Regions from separate parts of the Homo sapiens genome. Here all the other regions are linked to region 7. The links are contacts of gene promoters, found by promoter capture Hi-C in human tissues and cell types (Jung and others, 2019). All regions are on one chromosome and are shown on one strand. The core of a region is centred on a gene start or on the middle of the fragment in contact, and the rest is flanking DNA. Distances in the headings are between cores, read along the strand shown.

Region 1 (3,783 bases), core at 66-2,565, 110 kb before region 7:
CGGTAGACGTTCCCTATTGTTGCTCATGTTTTCCCTTTCAGTGTAAACCTGTGTCACGCCTGTATGGTTAATTTTCCTGAGTGAGCGCCTGGCTTGGTAAGGACCAGCAGGCGTGATCCGCTGGGAACAGCTTGCCCTTTAATCCTTTCTCTCTACTAAAATAGGCTATTGCAACAATAATGGACCTCATCCTGTTGAAATCAGCAAAGTGAAAGAAAAAAAGATTTACAGAATACTTTCTAAAAACATTATTCTCTTGTGCCCTTTAATACATTGTTTTCTTAAGAAAAAATGGATTTTTTTCCCCTTACCTAAAACTGGTATTTTAAAATGTTGGGTCAAAATCATATTATTTTATCATCTTCTTGGGCTTCTGTAGTTAAATTTTTAAAAAACTCTTATCATGGCTAAGCTTTTTGGTAATTCTTTGAACATGCCTAACATTCTGAAATGAGCTTTGCAAAGACACCTAAGAACCCTGACGGGGCTCAGCCAGTGCCATTGAATTGTGGATTTTAGTGACAAAGATGTCTTTTGACCTCCCTGATGCTGTTGGTCCTTATAAAATGGGAGCGATGGCAATTAATGTTGGATTGAAGTTCTTTTATCTGGGGCTCTCAGTTGTAGCCTCAGTGTCTGGAATGTATCAACACGAACCAAGGATGTGTCTGAGCAGACAAAATCAGCACTAGAACATCCAAGCTGCTTGCAGTTTATTCATCAGGTAGAACCTCTTATTGGGAGCTTCTCAGTGTTCATGTGACACATTTCTCATGTGGTTACACAACTGCTTTTCCACTTTGCAACAGCTTAGAAGCATCAGAGTAGAGGGTTTCTGGTAGACAATGGCCAGACAGGTAATACCCACTGAGGAGGAAGAATACAAACTATAAAAAACAGATGCAAGGATTTCAGGATGCTGCCTGGTGTATCCACAAAGGCGACACTGTGTTATAAGAAGACACTTAGGAAGAAGTTAAATGGCGTTTGCCATACTGCATTTGAGATCAATTTAGGTTTTCATCCAGACTGGCAAGTTTCTACTACGGGGTAGGGTGAGCTTCAGTTTTTTCAAGAGGTGAGTGGTGGAACCTCTGGTTGATTTCCTAAGCCACAGGCCTGAGTCCTGCTCTTCTACCCCTTTACCCCTTGACAATTAATATGTTAACATTATGCAAATGCTAGAAAAATAGAGCTCCTGCAGACATGCACAAACACTCCAACAACCAGACTGTGGACACTAATCCGCCTGTCTATTGAGATTTTGGACCTGCCACTGTCCCTGCAAGTCTGGGCAAATGAAGCATTGTTGGCAAGAGGAAGAAGCCTAACCTTTCTAAGTTAGCAAGGTAAGAGAATCTCTAATTTAGAGGAAGCAAACTTGGGCATCTGTTCTTTAAAAAAACCTCCCTAGGTTACTAATGTGTGGTCAGTATTGAGAACCACCGAGAAACAGACGTCTGCACACATTAGTTGAGAATAAATGTGATTAGGATGCTTGACTGTTCACATCTTCCTTCTCGGCTTCATGAAGTTATTTTCAGATTGCATAAGGAAAAAACAGAAACACACTGCATCTATGTGTCATCCTCTCACCACCATTTCCCCCACTAAGATGATGCTAACCTCTGAATGGTCACTTGAGTTCTAGGTGAGCCTTCATCTTACAAAGTAGCCTTTGGCCCAGGGCACTGGGCGATCAACTTAGTCTCATCCTGAGATTCTGGGCTGAGATCCATCCTTTACCACTTGTGTTCATCAGGTTCTCTTCATTTCTTTTCTTTTTTTTTTGAGTCAGAGTCTCGCTTTGTTGCCCAGGCTGGAGTGCAGTGGCGCGATCTTGGCTCACTGCAAGCTCCACCGCCCGGGTTCATGCCCATTCTCCTGCCTCAGCCTCCCGAGTAGCTGGGACTACAGGCACTTGCCACCATGCCCAGCTAATTTTTTATATTTTTAGTAGAGATGAGTTTTCACCGTGTTAGCCAGGATGGTCTCAATCCCCCGATCTCGTGATCCGCCCACCTTGACCTCCCAAAGTGCTGGGATTACAGGCGTGAGCCACTGCACCCGGCCAGGTTCTCTTCATTTCAAATGAGGAGTATGGGGTGGGGTAGGATAGAAGGAGGAGTTGGGAGTCACACAATGATTTAAGCCCTGCCTCAACTTACCAAACAGGGAATCTTTAACAAATTCAGACTCAGTTTCCCTATCTCCAGAATTAGCATCAGGGCAGGTCAAGAGTTTATTGGATGCCTGGATTTAATCAAACAGAGCTTTACTATTTCTTCTTCAAGGTCACTTGAGTTTGAGCACTTAGAATTAATTAAAGCCTCCCAATCCTCTTGAACACTCTTCTCTGTTGTCTGTGGTCATAAAATTCTACTCAGATTTTCTCTGAATTTTAAATCTGCCCGCCTAGATTGTTGCAGACATATCCTATGGCAGGGACATTTTTTCCCCAGGGACCTTGCTTTTAGCTGCATGAAGCTTCAGGATGGTGCAGGGGGACAGAAACCTCTTTTACACTGAGTCTTGTTTCTGCGCCAGTTCTGTGCCGGCGGGGAGCGAACGCTACCTACACACGTGCTGTGGCCAGGCCTTCTTCTGTAGGATTCCCTCTGGCCTCCCTCTGTTCTTCATTCCATCACCCAAACACTGTCTGTCATCTGCCTCTTCTCAGGTTTAATGATTTCCCTACTAGTGTTTAGCTTCTGCCATACTGCAGGATATTTTCTTTAATAGGCCTTATTTTTTAGAGCAGTTTTAGGTTCATAGCAAAATTGAATGGCAAGTATAGAGGTTTCCCATATACCTCCTACCCCTACATAGGCACAGCCTCTACTACTACTTACCACCCCACTAGAGTGATTCATTTGTTACAATCAATGAACCTACACTGATGCATCATTATCACCCAAAGTCCATAGTTAACATTGAGATCCACTCGTCGTGCTATACATTCTATGGATTGGGACAAATGTGTAATGACATCTATCCTCCATCATAGCACCATACGGAATAGAGTCATGGCCATAAAAAATTCCCTATGCTTCACCTATTCAGCCCTCCCTACCTTCAACCACCGATTATTTTTACTGTCTCCAGAGTTTTCCCTTTTCCAGTATGTCATATAGTTGGAATCATGGTATGTAGCCTTTTCAGTTAGGCTTTTTTTTTTTCCACTTAGTAATGTACATTTAAGTTTTCTCTATGTATTTTTTCTTTTTTTGTTTGAGGCAGAGTCTTGCTCTGTCACCCAGGCTGGAGTGCAGTGGCACAACCTCAGTGGTGCGGGTTTTTGTATGGACATCAGTTTTCAGACTCACTTGGGTAAATACCAAGAAACAATCCACGATTGGTGGATCATATGGTGACTGTGTCTAGTTTCGTAAGAAACGGCCACACTGTCTTCCCAAGCAGGTGTACCATTTTGCATTCCCACCAGCGATGAATCAGCTTTTGTTGCTCTACATCCTCTCCATAATTTGGTGTTCTCAGTGTTTTGGATTTTGGCCATTCTAATAGGTATGTCATGGTAGCTCATTGTTTTAATTTGCATTTCCCTAATGACATATGATGTTGAACATCTTTTCATATTTATTTGCCATCTGTATACCTTCTTTGGTGAGGTGTCTGTTCAGGTCTTTTGCCCTTTTTTTTGAGACAAAGTCTCACTCAGGCTGGAGTGCAGTGGTACCAAGTAGCTGGGATTACAGGTGCCTTCCACCACGCCCGGCTAATTTTTGTATTTTTAGTAGAGACAGGGTTTCACCATGTTGGCCA
Region 2 (3,531 bases), core at 943-3,442, 100 kb after region 7:
TCTATTCCTCGGAAGGAGCATCACTATCTCCCTTGTTCCTGGGAAGGAGCTGAATGGGGAACAGGAAGTGGTGGCTTACGAGCACAAGCCTATGCTTCTCATACATGTGACATGTTGATTGCAAGCCAGTGAGGCTTTGTTCCACATCTTCCTTCTGGGACACAAGTAAAGAAGCAGCCAAATGAAGTGGAAGGGCTGCTCAGGCAGAAGAAAGAACATGGCAGAGCCACACCATGACTGCTGAGCTTCTGCTCAGAGGCAGCACATGTCATTTTTATTCACAGTCTGTTGGCCCAAAGAGGTCACATGACAGCAATGGGGCAGGGACATATAATCCAATCACAGGGAGGGGCAGCAAATATTTGGAGTAATTATACAATCTCCTATAGGTGGGAGTTAGTAGAAATCACTGAATTAACAGAAAGACATAAACTATCAAAAGAATTGAACAGGCCAGTCGCAGTGGCTCACGCCTGTAATCCCAGTACTTTGGGAGGCCAAGGTGGGTGGATCACAAGGTCAGGAGTTCAAGACCAGCTTGGTCAAGATGGTGAAACCCCATCTCTACTAAAAATACAAAAAAATTAGTCGGGCATGGTGGCAGGTGCCTGTAATCCCAGTCACTTGGGAGGCTGAGGCAGAGAATTGCTTGAACCCGGGAGGCGGAGGTTGCAGTGAGCCTGGATCGCGCCACTGCACTCCAGCCTGGGTGACAGACTGAGATTCGTCTCAAAAAAAAAAAAAAAAGAATTGAACAAGGAGTTCAACAATCTTTTTGAAGTTAGGTTTTGAGGGTGTGATATTGGGATGTTGAATCATCAATTTTTTTATTGGTTATATCTGCACCTATTAGCCAAAGCAGGCTAAGAAATATATATAAAGGTGTTTCCCAGAGTGTGCTGCTTAGAACTCGCTGCTTCCAGGAGATGCTATGGGGTACTATGAGAACGGAAATTATGTAAGTAAATACATTTAGGAGACTTGAATTTTCATAGTGCACGTTTAAGTGTTAAAAGCTCCTGGAAATTCTTCAGTGGTAACAATTAATTAAATTTTTAAAAAAGTAACTTCGTTTTAATACAACATTTCCCCTAGTTTATTTAATCACAGAATCCTTTTTGTGTAACACTTATTAACATGCTGCAGGACTTTTATCTTCAGAATCATACTTCAGAAAATGCTGAATGAAACTACTTTAAAACAATATCAAAGACAATCTCAGTTTTCCTCGGTAACCACTCTAGGATTTACCAAAATTTCCTCTAAAAGAAATGTACTCTGATGCTAATTTAAGTATGTTACAGGCAGAGTCAATTTTCTGGTGCTACACATATGTAATGATAGATGTGACCAAATGTCATAAAGTGATTTTCATAGGACTTCTCTGCTAATTTCTACTTAGATGACTACAGGTCAACAAAATGGGGGCTATATGACACCTTATACACCATAGATGCTTAAATATTTCTAAAGGTGGCACACAGTTGAATATAACCACAAACACTCAAAGCTTTATACGTACTCAGTCAAGCCTCTGGATTGAATAGGTTTGTAGCAATCTGCCAACGACTCCTTCGGAAATCTGAGTGAATGATTTGAGGTGTTAAATCACCGATTATGTTTATTTCTAACACGAGCCCATTCAGTTTGGTTTCCTAAACACTTTTTGGAAGGATCCCTGTGAGATTCCAGGCTACATACCATTATTAGTTTGATACTTTAATGTTGAGATCTGTCCATAATATTTTAAATTTTAAGACAGTGTTTTTTTTTGTTGTTGCTGTTTTTTTCTTTTTTAACTTCTGGAACTCTACTCAGTAGCTTCATTATAGTCTAGATAACTAAACATCTTAAGTAAAGCTACATTTATGATTGCTAATGAAATTCTCATTCAATATCTGCATTACTTATATAGAACTTACTTCCAAAAAGCATTTGAAGAGGCAGCTCATTAAGGGCATTCTAAGAGTTCCCCTTTCTACTAATCTCCCTTTGAGGCCTATCAAATGTTAGGAAGGACACTCTAGTGCTCAAACTCTTTTACCCAAAGTGTTTACTTTCTGTATTTTAATAGCTTCTTCAGTTCCCTTGCCTGTCCCACATGGGTACATGAAGCCTTGTAATTGTGTAAATAAAGAGTAAAAACCTGCAATTATGATATAAATATGTACTCAAATTTAAAGCAACTAGTTATCAAAGACAAATGGATACAGGATCCTGCACCAGAATGAATCTGCTCAATATTGACATAGTGAATCGTCCTGAGAAGATTAAACCACAACTAGAAAAGCAGGCGGAGGGACAGTGAGTGACAGGGGCTTTATGGGGGGGCAGTGCCTCCCAGGGGGAGAGTTCATCTTCTTACTCAAAGAGACGCCTTCAGGGATCATGTAACTTGAATTCCCTGTGAATTCAGTGTCATCTTAGCTTGACCAGCTCTGGAAGAACATATTAACCTCCGCTTGTGATTTTCAGAAAACCATTCTAATTTAGCAAGTAATTAAGGGTCACATGTAGGACAAAGAGCTAGATAATCTTGGATTACCCACAGGAAGCTTTGTCTCCAAGGCAACCCCCGATGGAGGGGCTGTTAATGCGAAGGCCAGTCGGTTAATGAACTGGGAAAGGTAACTGGCTCCCAAACCTGTTAGAGCCAGGGAAATGGACATAACAATTATATGGCTATTGAATGACTCAGTGATAGAAAAGAAATGCTTCCAAAGCCAGTGGAGGCAAAACGTTTAGAGAAAGGATATAATTGTCACTGTTCTGCTAGACCAAATCCACAGATCTAAAATTAGCCTATTGTGAGTTCAAGCCAGGCCAATCTGTATTTATGAATTTTAGCCTAGTCTCCAGCTGAATCTTCTGGTTTCAGTGTTTCCTATGACCTAATTACCCCACAACCTGGTTTTTCCTGAGGGGCAGCCTCAGTTAGTACACTAGGCTGTGAGAGTGGCCCAAGGGAGTTTCGGAAGAGGAGACAAAACTTGTATTGTCCATCAGAGCCCTTGATACTCCATGCTGGGCTAAAAAATAAGATAGGGTTGCACAGAGAAGCACTATAAGAGGATTTTTAGACCAGGTTGGTAAAGGTGGAAGAGAAGACTGCAGGTGACCCAGTGACGGAGATGCTATGATAAGAGGAAAAGAAAAACAAAGGCATTCCCATGAGAAAACTTGAGAGGGACAGAGTGGAAAATTTAAGCGCCCTCGTCACTTCCTCAATGCTGCTCTCTTTTTTCTAATGGTCAAATTTAGGTCTTACATTCTCTACAAAGCCTTCTAAAACTCTACGAGCTCTTATTTATTTCCTGTCTTTGAACACTTACTGAACCACACTGCACACTTACCTGTATGTTCTCTTTCCATGTTCATTAAGAGTCTTGTGTACCTGGGTATTGTGTCTCTCGGCTTGTAAGGTAAGGGATCATGGGATATTCATTCAGCAGTCTCTAAATATTTACTAAGAATCTATTGTGAGGTGAGCACTATGCTAGCTGCTGGAGAAATAAAGATCAATAAAATACA
Region 3 (3,561 bases), core at 399-2,898, 91 kb before region 7:
TGAAAGAATGCAGAGGTGACTCTCTATTGCTACTCACCCTGAGGCCTTGGGGTTCTCGGTGATGGATTCAGGGCTTCTTCTCTGGCCACTGTTGGGTGATATTGGTGATATACACACAGGAGGTTAATTTGTTGGAGCCAAAAACTACGCATGAGTACAACAATAATAAATATTACTTTAAGTTAAAAAATGAATCCCGGCCAGGCACGGTGGCTCATGCCTGTAATCCCAGCACTTTGGGAGGCCGAGGTGGGTGGATCACCTGAGGTCAGGAGTTTGAGACCAGCCTGACCAACATGGTGAATCCCTGTCTCTACTAAAAATACAAAATTAGCTGGGTGTGGTGGCGCATGTCTGTAATCCCAGCTACTCAGGAGGCTGAGGCAGGAGAATCGCTTGAACCTGGGAGGCAGAGGTTGTGGTGAGCCGAGATCACGCCATTGCACTCCAGCCTGGGCAACAAAAGTGAAACTCTGTCTCAAAAAGTGAAAAAATAAAATGAATCCGTCTGGCACAGTGGCTCACCCCTGTAATCCTAGCGCTTTGGGAGGCCGAGGCGGGCAGATCACTTGAGGTCAGGAGTTTGAAACCAGCCTGGCCAACATGTTAAAATCCCATCTCTACTAAAAATACAAAAATATTAGCTGGGCGTGATGGCGGGTGCCTTAATCCCAGCTACTTGGGTGGCTGAGGCAGGAGAATTGCTTGAACCCAGGAGGCGGAGGTTGCAGTGAGCCAAGATTGCACCATTGCACTCCAGCCTGGGTGACAGAGTGAGAATCCATCTCCAAAAAAAAAAACAAATCTATCCATAACACCTCATTTTTACTGTCCAGTACCAAGGCGTTTTGGTGGTTTTCCTGTGTGAGCCTGCAAATTAATTATGGGTCAGCATGCACTAGAACACTACCTGGTTCCTGCAATATGCGAAAGTAAAACCTCCCCTGTGTGGGAATTTAAGTCGATCTTTGCTTGCTGAAAGGGTAGCAGTGACTTTAATAAACACCAACTCTTTTTTTTTTTTTTAAGAGATGGGGTCTCGCTCTGTTGTCCAGGCTGGAATGCTCATTGCCAGCCTCAAATTCGTGGGCTCAAGTGATCCCCCCACTCAGTACCTGTGACTACGGGCATGTGCCACCATGCCTGGCTAATTAAAAAAATTTTTTTTGTAAACACAAGGTCTGGCTTTGTTGCCCAGGCTGTCTTGAACTCCTGGTTTCACGTGATCCTCCTGCCTCGGCCTCCCAAAGTATTGGGATTGCGGGGGTGAGCCACCATGTCTGGCCCAAACTTTTTTAGACCAATGAATATCTTGCCAAAACGTGTAAATATTAAATAACATGAATTAATGAATGTAATCCTTTAATTTCCCAGTCTTACACAAAGCCTGGTGTCTTTAGCTATGACATTTAAGTAGCTGAAATCAAATATATAATTAAATTCTGCAAGAAAATAAAACGGAAACTCAGATACCTTGGAATAATTACACTGAAGATGTTAGCAATTCTCTGTCTTGTTATTATTGGAGTTGGCCCTTAGGAATGCTTTCCTCTGGCTGGGAATACCAGCTGCAAACATAAAATCTCACTTGGGACTACTCCTTCCCTTAAGGGTAATTTGTCCCAGCTGTAATGTGGGTAGCATTAGAGAAGTCAGGTTAAATTTTGCACAGAGGAGATTAAAGGCTCAGGATAGTGATATATAGGATATATATTTTGATGGAGGGTTGGGAAGATGTGGTATAAGTGCACTTGGAGTTGCTGCAATACCATCCTGAGTGCCTGGGGAGAGTACCAAAATGGGGAGGTGATTGGATGCTGGTGGCAAGAATAACGCTTTGAAGACATTCTGTCTCATAAGCGCCACCTCTGCACCAAACACTAGCAGATGCTGCCCTGCGGGGCTCTTGGTTATAACAGGCAGAGCTAGTCTGGGGTTCAGTTCCTGGGGAACTGCAGGGATTAAGAATGCTATGAGAGGCTGGGTATAGTGGCTCACACCTGTAACCCCAGCACTTTGGGAGGCCGAGGAAGGCAGATCACTTGAGGTCAGGAGTTTGAGACCAGCCTGGCCAACATGGCGAAAAGCTGTCTTTACTAAAAGTACAAAAATTAGCCAGGCATGGTGGTGTGCACCTGTAATCCCAGCTACTCAGGAGGCTGAGGCAGAAGAATCACTTGAACCGGGAGGTGGAGGTTGCAGTGAGCCGAGATGGTGCTACTGCTCTTTAGCCTGGGCGAGAGAGTGAGTGAGAGTCTGTCTCAAAAAATACAAAAATAAAAAATAAAAAGAAGAATGCTATGAGATAGGGAAATGGAACCAGGGTCTTGGACTGAATGCAAAGCAGGAGTAAGCTTCCCCCATGTGAATAAAAAGGCTGGAAAAAGCTGTAGCAAGAGTTGATTAAGGTTCTGTTTTTTTTCATAGCTGCATGCCCAAAAAGGAAGGTAGGAGGACATTAACACATCCTTTCTCACAGGACCTTCGCTACGCTGCTACCTGATTCTGTGTCTGGCTTTGCAGTATCTCAAGGCTTTTATAAAAGCTGGTTCTGGACTGTTTACTATGGGGACGTGGAGAGTCGGTGGGGACAGCAGCAAAGCCACCAGAGAAGCCTCCTAGAAAAGATGAAACTACAACCCAAAATTCGGAACTTGAACAGGAAAATAAATACCAGGAAGATCAATTTAATTAACTGACTCCCTTGGAAATTAAAATATTAATTAAAAGTTTAAAGGATTTTAAGTCATTATGTTTAAGATTGTTAAAGGCAAATGAAGGAAAACCAACTATAAAAATCAACATTAATTAGGCACAAATGGATGAAAAACAGGAGTGTATGAAAAACAAGGAATTTGAAATCTAGGAAATAAAAGTATGCTGATGATAATTAAAGACTCAAGGGATAGGATATACTAGACTAGATACAGGTGAAGAGATAACTAATACATTCAAGGTAACACTACGTAATGCTCCTGAGTGCAGGCCAGAGAAACGAAGAGACACAGAAAGAAAAAACAAGAAACAGGTAGACACAGAAGCTAGAGTGAGAGACTACAACATGCACCAATAAAGAGTCAAGAAAGTACAAAAGAGGAAATTCCAGAGAAGCATTATTTGAAGATCTTATTCCAGAATACTCCAGAACTGAATAAAGTCATGAACCCTCACCATAAAGATATTCTGTATGTACTGAGAAAAGTAAATAAAATTAAATCTTTACCTAGACATATCTGTGAAACTGAAGAACATCAATGATAGAAAAATCTTTGGAGTCATCAGGGAGAAATGACTTGTTACCTACAAAGTGGCATTTAGGTTAAAAGACGACTTCTTGGCCAGACACTGTGGCTCACGCCTGTAATCCCAGCACTTTGGGAGGCCGAGGCGGGTGGATTACGAGGTCGGGAGTTCGAGACCAGCCTGGCCAACATGGTGAAACCCTATCTCTACCAAAAATACAAAAATTAGCTGGACGTGGTGGCACGTGCCTGCAATTCTAGCTACTCGGGAGGCTGAGGCAGGAGAATGGCTTGAACCTGAGAGGCGGAGGTTGCCGTG
Region 4 (3,824 bases), core at 894-3,393, 130 kb before region 7:
ACAGAGTGAGACTCCATTTCAAAAAAAAAAAAAAAAAAAAAAAGTGTGTAACTTTAATGTTGAATTATATTTATTTTCCTATTTTGATTTATTGCACCAAAATACATTAACAATTATCTTAATTCATTTATGTCCTCACTTTCAGTTGTATCCTTCATTATTGCCTCAAATTACCTATTTTTACAGTTTTAACATTAGCAAGAGACAGTTCTGAGCTCTGCTTTTCCTACATCAGTCAGAGTTTGTTTTCAGAATAGAGAATAGTTTAAAGAAGAAAAGTCAATGACTCATAATTTCACTATCCTAAAATAGCCTCTCTTAGCGTCTTGGGGCATCTCTTTGTATTTGTTTTATCGTTTGGTGAGATCCTACTGCAGCTTACATTTTTCACTCAACATACTGTGTTTGGTCATGTCATTAAAGTTCCTTTTTATTTTCCTCCCCCAACCCAACCCGCTTTCTCCTCCACTCCCATTAAGTTCTTTATGCATTGTTTTAAATAGTGGAGTAATCTGCCATTTTCTTTTTTTTTTTTTTGAGATGGAGTCTTGCTCTGTCACCCAGGCTGGAGTGCAGTGGTGCAATCTCGGCTCATTGCAACCTCCGCCTCCCGGGTTCAAGCGATTCTTGTGCCTCAGCCTCCCGAGTAGCTGGGATTACAGGCACATGCACCACCATGCCTGGCTAATTTTTGCATCTTTAGTAGAGATCGGGTTTCACCATGTTGGCCAGGCTGGTCTTGAACTCCTGAGCTCAGGTTATCCGCCCACCTCGGCCTCTCAAAGTGCTGGGATTACAGGCATGAGCCACACTGCACCTGGCCCCACTTTCTACTCAGTTATTTCCATATTGTTGCTCATTTATTTCCTTTTCCACATTATTAGAATTAAGACTGTAATAAATGTCTTCGGGCCATAATTCTCAACCTGCCTTTAGTTTATACTGAATTCCTAGAAGTAGGATTATGGGCCAAGAGTAACCTCTTAATACTAATGCCAAATAGCTTTCAGAATGGTTTATCAATTTGTATCCCCATCACAGTGTATTCTTGCTAGCACTAAGTATTAGTATTAACAACAACAATAAAAAAACCAGACACTTTAAATTTCTTAGGCAAAGGCTAGGTGTGGTGGCTTACGCCTATAGTCCCAGCACTTTGGGAGGATTGCTTGAGGCTAGTATGTTCAAGACCAGCCTGAGCAACATAAAAAGACCCCATTTCTACCAAAGAAAAAAATTTAGAACTACCCAGGCATGCCAGCACATGCCTGTAGTCCAGCCACTTGGGAGGCTGAGGTGGGAGGATCCATTGAGCCCAGGAGTTTGAGGCTGTGGTGAGCTATGGTTGCACCACTGCACTCTAGCCTAGGCCACAGACTGAAACCTTGTATCTTAAAAAAAAAAAAAAAAAAAAAAAGTTGCTAGAAACAAAAAAAAAGGAAGGGGTTGCAAGGAGGGTAGAGGCAGGATTATTGGTTTGAACATTTTTTATGTTTATTTACTACTTGTATTTTCCTTTGGAAAATTATAGTTTTAAGCTTTTACCTTTTTCTGTTGGAATTTTAGTGTTTTTCTTATTGCTGATTTGTTTGCACTCACCATTAAAGATGTTTATTTTATCACTATTTATTCAACAAATTGAATACTTAACTTTTGCCAAACCCATGTTGAATCTTGAGGATACAGCTATGAGCAAGGCTGAAATGATCCCTACTTTTGTGGAATGTAAGGTCTAATGCAAAAGACACATTAGGTAATTATATGCTTAATTATGATGCTGATGAACGATACAAAGAAATACAGGATGCAGTGAGAATATATAATAGGAAGACCTAGGCTGGCCAGAGTGGAGATTGGCAAACCCCATTGCACCACCTGTTTTTGTAAAGTTTTATTGGCACACGGCCATGCTCTTTCTTTTACATATTGTCTATGGCTGCTTTCCCGCTACATTGGCAGGGCTGAGTAGTTTCAATGAGACTATGTGACCCGTAAACATAAAATATTTACTGTCTAGCCCTTTACACAAAAATTTGCTGATTTCTGGTCTAGCCAGTCAGGGCAGGGTTCTGTTGGACACTGACATTTAAAGGTGGATGTAAAGGTGAGTGTTTGGTAAACTAAGGGGTTCAGGGAGGGAGCCTTCTGGGTAAAGGCCCTGGGGTGGAAAGAAGCATGTGAGGTGGAAGCATGGACAGATACCACCAGTGCAGCTGGGGTGAGGCGAGCTTCACAGGCTGAAGCGGGGCTGCAGGGTTATATCAGACAGGGCCTTAGAGGCCATATTGTAGTTTAGTCTTCATCCTCAGAGTAGTGGGATGCAATCAAAGGGCTTTAGGCAGGGCATAGACAACCAGGTGACCAGATGTGCATTTGAAAACCAGTACAGTCAAGCACCATATAATGATGTTTCCATCAATGGTGGACTGCATACATGATGGTGGTCCCAAAAAATTATACCATATTTTTACTGTGCCTTTTCTATGTTTAGTTACATAAATACTTACCAGTGTGTTACAGTCGCCTGCAGTATTCAGTACAGTAGCATGCTGCACAGGTTTCTAGCCTAGGAGCAATAGGCTACATCGTATAGCTTAGGGGTATAGTAAGCGACACCATCTGGGTTTGTATAAGTACACTCTATGATGTTCAAACAACAATAAAATCACCTAACAACGCATTTTTCAGAATGTGTCTGTCATGAAGTGGCGCATGACCGCCCAGAGTGTATCACAGAGAATGGATCAGAAGAGGTGTGCATGGGCATTAGGAGACCTGTCATGAGGCTTCACAGCAGCCTGATGGGCCCCGTTGGTGATATGATGAGAGTGGCAGCAGTGGGAATAGAGAGACCTGGACAAACTCCAGACGTGTTTGGAAAGCCAGAATGTATAGAATGAATGGGTAGGGGGTGGCTCCAAACAGCAGGGTGATAATAATGTCATTTACTGAGAGAAGGATCCCTAATACTGAAAGCTTTTGGAGAAGGTAAGTTTAATTTTGACATGTTGAGGATGGGGTATCTTTAAAGACATCTAAGTGGAAACATCAGGTAGGCAGTTGGAAGTCTCTGAATTGGGAGTAGTTAGCCTGATGGGACCAATGCCAGCATTCAGGTAGAGGAGGAGATTCAGGTAGAGGAGGAGCAACTGGCAGGAAGACAAGAAAGTGGTGAGAAGTGGATGGCATGCCATCCTGGAAGGCAGGGGCTGAGGGTTCGAAGAAATGATCATGTGTGTTGAGAGCTGCTGGAAGGTCAGGTAAGGTGAGGGCCGACAGTTATCCTTTGGATTTAGTGAGCATGTGACTGACTATGTAGGTTGAGGACTGAATATAGATGGTGAAGAAGGGGAGCAACTTGGGGTAGACACTGTTTTGAGAAGAGCTGTGAAGGAGAAGAGAGTGTGAAAGCTGGAGGAGGATGTGAGGTGGAGGAAGGGTTTGCGATGGGAGAGTCTTTAGCTGATGGGAGGAGGAGGTATAGAGCCGTGATTCAACTTTCACTGCACCTCAGAATCACCCCACCCCTCCCAGTGATCCAGCTGGTCTGGGATGGACTTTCCAGGGCTTCCCCGATGATTCTGAGGTGCAGCCAAGGTTGAGAACCAATGGTATAGAGCAGTGGTTCTCAGCTGTGATTCCCACTCCAGCAGCTTTCGTGTCACCTGGGAATGTGTCTGAAGTGCAGTCCTCAGGCATCGCCAGCTGATCCTAGTGCACGCTGATGCTTGCGCTGCTGCTGTAAAGAACTGTCCGGACACTGAGAAGTCAGAACCACGTAGAACCACCTGGCAAAGTCTCCATTTGGACTTCCCGAGTGTCTT
Region 5 (3,458 bases), core at 599-3,098, 78 kb after region 7:
TATGAAAACCTTTCTAAAATGGAATATGGTTTGCCTTCTCTCAAGAAGACCTAGGGAGTCATCATTACTCCCTTGGAATGGTTCATGCAGCAGAGGGATCAGACTTGTTCTCAGATCCCAGTGACAGCTAAAACCAAGAGGTTAAATTTACAATTTTATCTGCAGCTGGTTGAGAATTAAACAGATTGTCTCAACAAGTAGTGAGCTCCTCTTAATTAAATTAGTGAGGTATCTGGACTGTCACAGGTTAGCAGAGAACAAAAGTGACAGAAGTCATACTGACAAGGCAGAGAAGGAAAAAACTAAAAAGATGTACGTTTCTACTTTGCAAAATGTATATTTGAAGGAATGATCCTAAATTTCTTAACAGAATCTTAGAATCCTAGGCAAGCACAGGAATCCACCTGACACATGAATGCTTTTCTCATTATCCCAGTCAAGCAGTGGTTCAGCCTCTTCAATACATTTCATTTCTAATAATCCTCTCACGAGTCCCACCCTAAACAACAGTCACTGAGGTTCAGGGTGGTTGCAGGAGAAGGCCCAAGGCACCAGAGTAAGGGAACTTGAGTCATTACTTCTAGAGTCAAAATTTTGTCAGAGACTTAAGATTCAGTCACACAGGCAAAATGTTCTGGTATTCTGTCCAAATTTTCAGCAAGAGAATAAAATCTGTCAATATGAAGAGTTACTCTCTATATACTGTAGAATGGAAACATGTGAACTAAAAATTAGTTTAAAATAATTAATTTTAAAAGATCATTTAGCATTTGGTTCATATTAATATGTTTCCTGTGATTAGTAATATTCCTATTTCATTTTACATCATTTACAACTGGTCCTCCTCCACAGAGCCTTTTAAATTAGAATCAACAATCAGGAAGTTATTTGCCTTTGAGTCTTAAAAAGACTGTAGATTATTACATTCAAATTACAATACTAAAATCCTCCAATTGTTCAGTATTTTTTTCCTTGAATTCTAACAAACTGAAAATCCAGCATGAGTCTTCATTGTCTAGTTCCAATTATTTTTATTTATTTATTTATTTTTTGAGACAGGGTCTCGCTCTGTCGCCCAGGCTGGAGTGCAGTGGTGTGATCTCGGCTCACTGCAAACTCTGCCTCCAGGGTTCACGCCATTCTCCTGCCTCAGCCTCCCGAGTAGCGGAGACTACAGGCTCCCGCCACAAAGCCTGGCTAATTTTTTTGTATTTTTAGTAGAGGCGGGGTTTCACCGTGTGAGCCAGGATGGTCTTGATCTCCTGACCTCGTGATCCGCCCGCCTCGGCCTCCTAAAGTGCTAGGATTACATGTGTGAGCCACCGCGCCCGGCCCCAATTTTTTTTTAAAGGACGTAACACATTTCATTGTACTGTGAGTTAGCAGGAATGTTAGGAAGGACTGTAACTGAAAGCCTAGGTACAAACTGTCCACTGATTATTACTTCTTTATGAGATCATCAATAACCTTCCTTATTCACCTTATGGTTTCAAACCATTGTTAAAGACTACACTTGCAATATTTAAGATCTCTTGCTTTGGCTGTGTTTCCCCCACCAACAGCACTTATTGCTTTCAACCTCCTCTTACTTTGTTTTTCCCTCCAATGTGGAAACAACTGGGACAAGCTAGGGTGCAAGTACTCATGAAAATAAATACTTCTTGAGCACTTCACATTGGCACAATATTAGGAACTAGGAGAAATACAGGATATGCCTATTGTGAGAAGTTTACAATCATATTGATAAGAAGAGATATACATATAGTTAATAAGCAAATCAGTACAACATATCTCAAGGCCAAATAAGCATTAGAGAAAAAAAAATACTCTAAGAGTTTAGGAGAGACAGATCATTATGAGCTGTTTAGGAAATCTGATAGAAAAGGGATCTGAATTTGTGTGCTCAAAGCTAAGTATGACTTTAACAAGTAGAAAGAAAAGGAATTATTACCAGACTGAGATGTACAGAGAGGTGAAAACCAATAAGTAGCAGTCACGTGTCCAGCCAGTCTCTTCAAAACGTGTACCTGAAAACACTAGCTCCATGATCACTCATAGACATTAGGTGAAAAAAAATTCCATAGTTAAGTCAGTCTGGGAAATGTGAGGTCTAATAAAGGTTTATTTATCCTTTCTTTATAAAGGATCCTTCATAAAGAAATCTTTAATGTGCTAATATGCAGAGTAGTGACCAATCTCATCAATTGTGGAACCCTTTCTGGGGAGTACGTTTTGCAAGGCTATTGTTTTGGAGTGCTGCCAGGGCTCACAGCCTCACGGTGTTGGGTCACACGGACAGTCTGCACCCACCATGCTTGATGTCTGGGCTTTGCTACATGCAGGTAAGCAAGACTTACTGATGACTCTAATGAAACTGTACAGGGTGAATAATTATAGTGGAATTCAAACCCAAGCTAATTATAATACATTGGACACTTGCTCTATTCTAAGATCTCTAAATTAGCTTGGAATTAAGACTAAGCCAATACAGTTTTCCACAGAACTAACTTTCTCAGAGATTTAGACCCAGGAGTGTAAGTCTAGCTCATGATTTAGGTGAAAGAAAAATTCATACACTATTTTTTTTACTTTTAAGTATTATATAACCAGGTATTAATGGCATCTTTAAAAAGCAAAGTTTACAATGCATAGTGATCTTAGTTATCATAACTGCCAGTTAGATATCTCCACCTATATGTTATGCTAACCTCAATTTACCTACAACTAAACTCATTACCAACCCTCTGATTTCCCATTCCTCCCCCAAACAGATAAAACACAAACAAATGTGCTGCTTCTTTGCTAGTAAATAGTACCAATTAGCTGTCCAATTGGCTATATTCAGGAACTCTCCTTGACTCAACAACTGTGTTCACCCCTAACCCCAAGAAAACTGGTACTAAGAATACTGGGACCTAAGTCATCTTTCTAAATTGCAAATCTGATAATTTCACTTCCTGCTTAAAACCCTTTAAACATTTTTAAAAGCTTCTTATGGGTTAAACTACAGGAAGCTGTGCAAGGCCTGTTACTGCCCTTTCAACCTCACTGCTCACTGATCTCTTCTATCTCCCAGCCACACCAAACTACATGCCTTTCCAAAATATTTCAAGCTCTCTCAAGGGCCTATGCCTGCTTTCTGTGCTTGGAGTACACCCACTCACTCGCACACACACACACCCTCTTCCCCCAACTCCCAGGAACTTCCTGATCTCCCTGTAGGGCACAGCTCAACTCTGAGAAAATGTTCCTGCCCTTCCCCACCTCCACCTGGCAGTTACAGGATTCTAACCACAGGACCGCTTGATAGTGTCTGCAACGCAGCATTTATCACACAGCATAGGAATGATACATTTGTGTGTCCTCTGTTAGGCTATAAGCTCTCTGGGGAGAAAGTCCATCTGTCTTACTCATATTTGTATCCTGAAGGCTTGGAGATTATCCGTCTATCTATCTAT
Region 6 (3,975 bases), core at 1,250-3,749, 71 kb before region 7:
GGTGTGCACCTGTGGTCCCATCTACTCAGGAGGCTGAGGAGGGAGGACCACTTGAGTCCTGGAGGTTGAGGCTGCAGTGAGCTGTGATTGCTCCACACCACTCCAGCCTGGGCAACAGAGCGAGACCCCATCTCTTAAAAGAAAAAAGAAGAAGAATGTTCATCACAATCAAAACATTGTAATACAAAGAAGTGGGCAATAATTTAGATAACCATCCACAGGGGACAGGTTAAATAAATGATAATACCTTCATACAAAGGAATACTATTCCTTCAAAAGAGTAAGGCAGGTTTATGTGTAGTGGTGGGAAAGCATCCTTAGCATATTGTTTAGTGAACAGAGCAAGCTTCAGAGTATAATGTGATCTCAGCTGGGTGTGGTGGCTCACATCTGTAATCCCAGCAATTTGGGAGACCGAGGTGGGCAGATCACCTGAGGCCAGGAGTTCAAGACCAGTCTGGCCAACATGGTGAAACCCCATCTCTACTAAAAATACAAAAATTAGCTGGGTGTTGTAGCCCGTGCATGCAATCCCAGCTACTCGGGAGGCTGAGGTGAGAGAATTGCTTGAACCTGGAAGGCAGAGGTTGCAGTGAGCCAAGATTGTGCCACTGCACTCTAGTCTGGGCAACAGAGTAAGACTCTGTTTCAAAAAAAAAAAAAAAGAATAGAATGTGATCTGACTTGAAAGAGGAAAAAATAAAAGCTTCCACACATGTCATTGTGGATAAGAGCAGGTCCTCTGTGGTCAGACTGTGGGGGTTTGAGTCCTGGCTCTGCTACTTACTAGCTGGTCACCATGGAAATGTGAAAGAGGCCTTGGTATCCACTTCTGTAAAATGGAAATAATAAGAGTATCTGCCTCATTGGCATGTGATAGGCTTTCAGAAAATACCAGACAAACTGTTAGTAATGATCAACTCTAGGGTGTCGGACATGAAGGAATGGGGAACTTTAATTTTTACCATATTCCCTTTCAGACTATATTTTTTATAGGAATGTTTAAACCGTCTTTTGAAAAGATGTTGTCTCAAAACTAGAAGCCATCTATTAACAGGTAACTACTCTTGGCACACCCTCAGTGTGATTGATGAGGATTAATGAAGGGTGAAGATATTTGTCAGTCCAACTGGGCCCATAAGACGCCTTGAGATTCTCCTCCCAGTAGAGGGAGGCCTTGGTCCACAAGGAAGTCATGTCCACTCACAACTGCAAACCTCTAGGCACGAATGACTCCATCCAACCTCCCCACACTAAGAAACCTGACCAAACTCTAGGATGGCTTCTATCAGCCCAAGACTGTGAGCCCAGTCCCTCTTAAAGTGCCTGCCTGAGAAGTCTCAAATACTGCCTAAAGAATTTGTTCCAGCTAAAACAACTATAGGCCCCTGCCCTCCTTTTGCTTAGAGCAGTTACTTTAGAAAACTTACAATTATAAATCCTTTCTCTGCCACTTTGAGATGTAAATCTCCTTCCACCCAGAATCTCCTTCCACCCAGAGGACCTGGGAACCATGGCTTTGAAATGCAAACATCTAGGGACATAGCTCCCTTGTCTCCCGGTCTCTGTGGGAGGGTAACAGACCAAATTCAGTGGGTGCCTTGCTCCAATTTGCAAAACTACCTCCTGCCATAAAGATATGAGATATTTGTTTCTCCTCCAGATAAGCACTAATTAACAAACACAGATGGCTAATCACATTGACCACCCCGCCGCCCCACTTTTACATTCTTCAGTACTTTTCCTTTAGCACAATCCAACCTACGGTTTAAAAAGCCTAGGCTGGGTACAGTGGCTGATGCCTGTAATCCCATCACTTTGGGATCCCAGGGCAGGAGGATCACTTGAGGCCAGGAGTTCAAGACCAGCCTGGGCAACACAGTGAGATCCCATCTCTCCAAAAACTAAATAAATAGTCTCCCATCTGTTATTTCAGTGGAGTTGAGTTTGGTTCTATACTAAAGTCCCTCTCTCCCCTGCTGGAGTAGACTGAATAAAATCAATCTTGCCACCTCTAACAGCTGTCCTGCTGTTTCTCTTTGACACCACTGATGAAGGAGGACTTGGTCCCTGGGAAGGCCAGGACCATGGAGGAGGATTTGGCATCTACCCAAGTGGTATTTACATTTACTAAACCTCTGCCTCCCTGTAAATACCAGGAGAAGAAGAGGGCAGAGGTGCTCATTATGCAAAAGACAACTGAAACGTGCAAGAGGGACTTTTCCTTCATATGAATGATAGGAAATCTTATTTATTGAGTACTTTGTAATGTACTGAGAAATATGCTAAGCTCTTAGTATACAGCATTTTATTGAATCCTTAGAACAACTTTCCAAGGTAGGTGTCATTATTTTCTTGGAATTCATACTTCAGAAAGATTAAGAAACTTGCTCCAGGTCACACATAAGCTCATAAGTAGCAAACCTAGGAGTCAAACTCCAGAGTCCCCGTTCTCCAGAAGCTTTAGTGTGACCTGGATAAAAAGCCTTGTAGCTGTGCAAATGAAGTACAGCTGAAATTTGTTGTTTATCTTAGAAAGTTTTCTTTCCATGGAAAGTAACTACATCTTAGTATATGGCACTAGTAATGGCATTACTAAAACAATAAGAATGACACACAGCTCTGTGGTGAAACACTCAGCTTTATTTTTCCCCAAGCTGGGTTTCAGGCCACTGAAATGGGTGACCATAGTACAGATCACAGAACCTTGCCTTCTTTTCTTCCTAGTGAGATGGCCAGGTGGGAGGGGGTCCCTGGCAAAACTCCAGCTGGCTTGCACAGTGGGGTGGAGCCTCCAGAAGCTCATGCCATTTGCAGTGGGTAAGAGCCTGGCCCCTCCTCTTCCTGCATAGAACCTGGGATTCAATCTGTAAGGTGGGAAGTGCAGCAGCAGAGAACTCTGGCCTTGCAGAGAGTCCCTGTTCCCACTTACTTTCCTTTTCACCAAATAAAACCCTGCTTTACTCATGCATCAAATTGTCTGTGAGCCTACATTTTTGTGGCCATGGGACAAGAACACCATCTTTAGCTGAGCTAAGGAAAAGTCCTGCAACATTTTTGGCACCCAACGTGGGGCTTGAGAAGTGGTGAGTGAGATGCAAACCAAGAATTCTTTTCCCCTCTCTCTTTGGAGCCTTTTCATCCTAGGAGTTCTGAGCTTATGGGAAATCACATTCCCAACTCCTGTCGCTCCCGGGGGTTAGGAGCCTTTTCATGGCCTTACCTTCCTTTTTCAGGATGGACCTGGTGAGCAGCCGGCTTGCCACTGCTCCCCGCTCCTTGCTGGGGCTGGGACCCATGGCCCAAGGGTCCCACACAGCCAGCTGGCTGGTTCCCAGCCACGTGCCATGCAGCCTTCCTCTTCCCCAGCCAAGGGATTTTACTCCATTGGACAGTAATTAAACTTTTCTCCTTGTGGAGAAACCAGTTACATAAGAATAAGAAGTTCTTCCCCAGGCATTTTTAAACTGTTTTTTTTTTCCTTCACCTTCTCCACCCCATCAGCAGTTACCATTTAGTGAGGTTTTTTCTTTCAGAAGAAGTTTTGCTAGGCTAGGAATGATAAGCGCCCCTGTTTATATTCTCCGTAAAGTTTTGGTTGTGAAAAAGGATCTTGTGGGGACTGGGTTTTCTTCTGCCTGTCAGTGTGTGTATTGTGTGTGATGTCTGTAAAAAGAGCTCTATTAATTTGGCCTAAAGAAAAACGAGTGCTTGAATCAAGCATTTTTTTTTTTAAGGGAAGTTAAAAGCTGTGGTACCTTTCAGTTCACATGACTTTAATCTTTGAGAAATAAAAACAGCTCTAAAGACTATTGGTAAAATGCAGGTCAGGTGCAAGGTTTGCTAAATGTTTTGAGGTTACAAACTGATTTTTGAGTTTGGGAAACTATTTGACTTGCCGGCTTCACAATTGGTAGGGCCTGGGGACATGTAGAACTAACCACACCCTTAATTAAGAAGGCAACTTTGGCTGCA
Region 7 (3,829 bases), core at 1-2,500:
CATCGAAGATCTGTGCCTCTCCCTTGAGACTCTGGGCATGCCAAGTCGAGGAAGGACAGTAATAAATGCATGGACACCCGTGAATTCCGAGAAGCATTGGCTGCAATTTGGGCCTCGGGCCCTCCCAGATCCCAGTTCCTCAACCTGGGCGCTTTACCTGGACCCGGACCTCTGGTAGGTTGACCTTGCCGGCCAGCTCCTCGCGGCTGTACACGTCCGGGTAGTGGGACTTCTCGAACGCGCGCTCCAGCTCATGCAGCTGGTACGTGGTGAAAGTCGTGCGGTTCCGCCGATGCTTTTTCTTGGGCTGTTCCTCCTCTGACAGTTTCGCTTCGCCGGTGGCTGGCCCGACGGGCAGCCCTGGGCTCGGCCGTGCCTCCCCGGGCTCCTTGGGGCAGTAGGGTCGAGGGGCTGGGGCGACGAGGCCCGGGAGGGTCAGATGCACTCCCCAAAACACCCTTGGGCCGACCCCGCCTCGCTGTGGGCACTGGCCAGCCCGCCTGCGGGCTCCGAGATGGCCCGGGGAGGTCCGTGGTGAGGGCGGCGATGGGTCCTAAGCTTTCTCTGAATGCAAATTGGAAGCTCCCGCCATAGACGGTCCCCAACCCCGCGCCCAGTTGCCTTAATAAAAGTTAAGGAAGGGGCGCTCTCGTCTGGCCAACTCCTAAGCTCGGGCGCCCGAACGGCCTCGCACAGCCAGGGGTGCGCACTCACCTTCGTACTCGGGGGCGGGCGCCGGGGCTGGCGGCGGGGAGGGCTCGGAGCCTTCCTCGGGCGCCTTGGGGCAGGCGGGCCGCGCGCCCAGCCTCCTATCCCGCTCCTTCGCGCCCCGGGCGCCCCGCTCCGCCGGGAAGGTGCCGAGGATCCCGTCGTCCTTGGTAAACCCCAGGATGGCCTCGATGCTGTGAAGTCGCGAGGTGCTCCCGCCCGGGCTGCGGAGCAGGTGGCCGGCAAGCGAGAAGCTCCCGTCGGCCATGGCTGGCGCGCAGCCCGGCAGGTGCATGGGGAGCGCCGGGAGGCGGGAGGGCGCTTTGGAGACGGAGAGGAGAGGCTCGAAGCCGGGTCTTCCCGAGTGCGGCGGTGCAACCCGACGGGTCCCGACCCTAGGTCAAGCTCCGCGGGCGAAGCCCGCCCGGGCTGCGCACGCTGGGGGTGGCCGAGCGCTCAGCCCGCTGCCGCCTTAGTCCCAGAAGTCGGAAGTTCGGGCTCGGGGTAGCTGGGGCTCTCGGCGCTAAAGGCGGGGAGCCAACTGGCCCTCGGCTCCTCCCCTCTCGCCCTGGACCCAGCCCCTTCTCTCGGCCCCTCCCTCCACAGAGGGGCGTGTCCTCACCCGGCCCAGCCACAGGGTCCTCTAGTGGCCACCCCTGGGCCGGCACTAGGAATATTCCCCTTCCACCTCTTGATCCGTTTTAAGCTTTACAAACACACTCCGGGGATCCGCGGCGGGATGCCTGATGGGCTCGGGAACCTGGTCGCGGCGCACCCCTAGTCCTGCCTCAGTGGGGCCGACGCCCTTGGGCTCATCTCTCCCCTTGCGTTTGTCTCCCTCTACTTCGGGCTTACCCTCTCACTTCAGACTACCCCCTGGGGGTCACCTCCCTCCTTGGACGCACCCCTCCCCAGCTTCAGACTCGCCCCTCTAGCCCCCTCTGGCTCACCTCCGCGGGGCCGCCACCCTGGCCTGTGCCCCCTGGAAGCGCCGAGACCCAGCCGAAGGCTTCCCAGCCCCGCACTCGTCGCAGTTTGAATTTCCCCTCGCTGGCTCCCTTTTCGGGACCCACTCCTTTCTTGGCTGGGTTGTACGAAGTCCCGGACCTCGCGTTTAGTTTGTCCGTCTATATCTGTTGTAACTCCTCCCAGTCCCCTCGGACTTGAGCGCCGGCAGCCTCCCTCCTTCCCCGCAGCGCCCACCCCAGGGCCATTTATGTCCGCAAGTCCGGTGACCTCTAGCGCCCGATCGCCCAGCAGGAGACTGGGAGCCCCGAGTCGGATGTGCTGCCGGGCTCAGGTCCCGCAGGAGACCCACCTGGAGTTCCTCGCTCCCGCCCCTTGTCCTGCGGGGAGGGCGGGCTCCTTTACTGATGAGCAGCGGTGTCGCACTCCCGCCTCCCTCCAACACTCCGGGCCAAGGAGATGGCCCAGAGCTGGCTGGGGAAGGACCTTCTCCCGGGGAAGAGGCCTCTCGCCTCCCCGAGGGTTCAGGAGTAATTGGCTTGCAGTTCTTTCTCCTTTGGACCCCCTCGAGGCTTCCGTGGCCCACAGTGACTGATCGGCCACTTGGAAAGATGATTGGATAGGGTGAGTGTGTTTCACCTCCAGCAGCGCGGATGGACAATGGCGCTGTGAACGTCTCACCCCTCAAATCTGAGGCGAGACCCGAGGCGAGCGCTTGGCCTTCCCTGAACTGGTGGCCTGAACCGTGAATTAAAATGCTTTCCTATAAAAGCTCAAGGACCTAGAGGACAATATCCCTAAAATCTCCTTTTCAGTAGGCGCTCTGATCTCCACAGCAGGGGTGTCTTCTTTATCCCGCTTGCGTTCAGACAAGCGTTTGCTGCGTCCCTTTAGAGGGCAAGGCAACCGTCGAGGGCCACGTCGTGGGCATCAAACAAATTGGGAAAGGCCAGGGCCGTTGGCCTGGTGGAGTTTAACGTCCAGTCTGGAAGACAAGACAAAGGAAGAGGGAAAACACACATCCTCAGATCCCCAACCTTTAAATTGGTGTTAGAAGGATGTTTGCGGAGGACAAGTCAATTTCTTAAGGATCATTCAATGGTTAATTCCCCATGATGGGCATATCTACTTTTAATAAAACTATATAATGGCAAACTAAAATAAGGGCAAGCATGTGACTGCAGGAGATAGAAATTGAACTAATTCAAGTCAGAAATTATCTTTTAAGAAAAAAGCTAAAATTAATGAAAGTTAATAGCACTTTACAGTGTTCACATATTACTTTATTTACTTATTATTTATTTGTCTGTTTATTTTAGAGACAGGGTCCCTCTCTGTTGCCCAGGCTGGAGTGCAGTGGCATGATGGTGGCTCACTGCAGCCTGGAACTCCTGGGCTCAAGCAATTCTCTCGACATGTCACTTTGTAGGTTTCAGAATCTTCTCACATTCTTCATGTCATCTGATCTTCACAACCTTGTGAGGTGAGCAGGACAGACATATTGGTCCCCATTTTACAGAAGAGGAAACTGAGGCTCAAAGTGATACAGCTATTAAGTGGAAGGGTCAGGACTAGAACTCAGGCCACTGACTCCTTGTCCAGTGTTTTCTGCCTGCAGCTCATTTGTAATTATTATTGTAGTGTGTGATCTTTTTGAAAAGAATCAAAGCCCATCTTAGCCTGCAGTCTGTCTTTAATCCTTCCCTGAGACTGGATTCTGCATCTAAGAGGCGGAGGTAGAAGCAGTTTAGCTCCCAGAAGAAATAAAGTCAGAGCCTATAGAGAGTGGGCTTTGGGTACCGGCATCCAGGGCAAATTAACAAACCCTCTGGAAAGTCCCCTGACAGACCAGGTTTTGCCTCCTCCTCCGCCCCTCCTCCACCTTTCCAGGGCCCACAAATGGCCTGGTGGCACCCGAAAAGGTCTGACTGCCAGTGACATAGACCAGGTGGCTGACGTGCTGAGGTGGTGGTGATCAGAGGGCAGCTGTGGGGATAATTAATTGGTATTTGTTGTTCCCCCTCTGACCGAGAATGCTTTTTATGCAAACTTCCCCAATATTAAATTGATCTCGATAATCACCGCTAAACAAAGATTGGCAGCGTTTCCTTAAGCTCCTGCCCACACGCTGCTAAGGGGTTTATGGCCTTGTTTT

Evidence for each region. The method cuts DNA at HindIII sites, captures the fragments that hold promoters and counts their contacts. A contact is called where the count stands out against the background at its distance.
Region 1: a contact is called between a fragment that was not itself captured here and the fragment with the promoter of RAX in region 7, in 5 of the 25 tissues and cell types used here (heart left ventricle, liver, lymphoblastoid cells and 2 more).
Region 2: a contact is called between a fragment that was not itself captured here and the fragment with the promoter of RAX in region 7, in 4 of the 25 tissues and cell types used here (H1 embryonic stem cells, mesendoderm cells, neural progenitor cells and 1 more).
Region 3: a contact is called between a fragment that was not itself captured here and the fragment with the promoter of RAX in region 7, in 2 of the 25 tissues and cell types used here (mesendoderm cells and thymus).
Region 4: a contact is called between a fragment that was not itself captured here and the fragment with the promoter of RAX in region 7, in 3 of the 25 tissues and cell types used here (IMR-90 fibroblasts, aorta and spleen).
Region 5: a fragment that was not itself captured here is called in contact with the fragment with the promoter of RAX in region 7 in 3 of the 25 tissues and cell types used here (liver, mesendoderm cells and thymus).
Region 6: a fragment that was not itself captured here is called in contact with the fragment with the promoter of RAX in region 7 in 2 of the 25 tissues and cell types used here (mesendoderm cells and thymus).

Annotation. Positions count from the first base shown.
Region 1 is chr18:59,160,196-59,163,978 of GRCh38, forward strand. No RefSeq gene overlaps it. Among named protein-coding and RNA genes, the nearest start is that of SEC11C, 22 kb to the left of the region's middle. The HindIII fragment of the contact is 5,175 bases long and covers 1-3,783 here.
Region 2 is chr18:59,374,213-59,377,743 of GRCh38, forward strand. No RefSeq gene overlaps it. Among named protein-coding and RNA genes, the nearest start is that of LMAN1, 17 kb to the left of the region's middle. The HindIII fragment of the contact is 3,110 bases long and covers 638-3,531 here.
Region 3 is chr18:59,181,295-59,184,855 of GRCh38, forward strand. No RefSeq gene overlaps it. Among named protein-coding and RNA genes, the nearest start is that of GRP, 37 kb to the right of the region's middle. The HindIII fragment of the contact is 3,497 bases long and covers 1-3,397 here.
Region 4 is chr18:59,143,333-59,147,156 of GRCh38, forward strand. The region is part of intron 1 of SEC11C (SEC11 homolog C, signal peptidase complex subunit); the gene reads left to right. Among named protein-coding and RNA genes, the nearest start is that of SEC11C, 5.4 kb to the left of the region's middle. RefSeq lists an enhancer at 1,211-1,260. The HindIII fragment of the contact is 4,425 bases long and covers 1-3,824 here.
Region 5 is chr18:59,349,461-59,352,918 of GRCh38, forward strand. All of the region lies in intron 5 of LMAN1 (lectin, mannose binding 1), which reads right to left. Among named protein-coding and RNA genes, the nearest start is that of LMAN1, 8.1 kb to the right of the region's middle. The HindIII fragment of the contact is 6,352 bases long and covers 1-3,458 here.
Region 6 is chr18:59,199,800-59,203,774 of GRCh38, forward strand. No RefSeq gene overlaps it. Among named protein-coding and RNA genes, the nearest start is that of GRP, 18 kb to the right of the region's middle. The HindIII fragment of the contact is 3,947 bases long and covers 527-3,975 here.
Region 7 is chr18:59,272,204-59,276,032 of GRCh38, forward strand. RAX (retina and anterior neural fold homeobox) reads right to left here and starts at 1,251. Exons shown (of 3, transcript NM_013435.3): 1 at 715-1,251; 2 at 158-411. The coding sequence starts at 1,003. The HindIII fragment of the contact is 4,384 bases long and covers 987-3,829 here.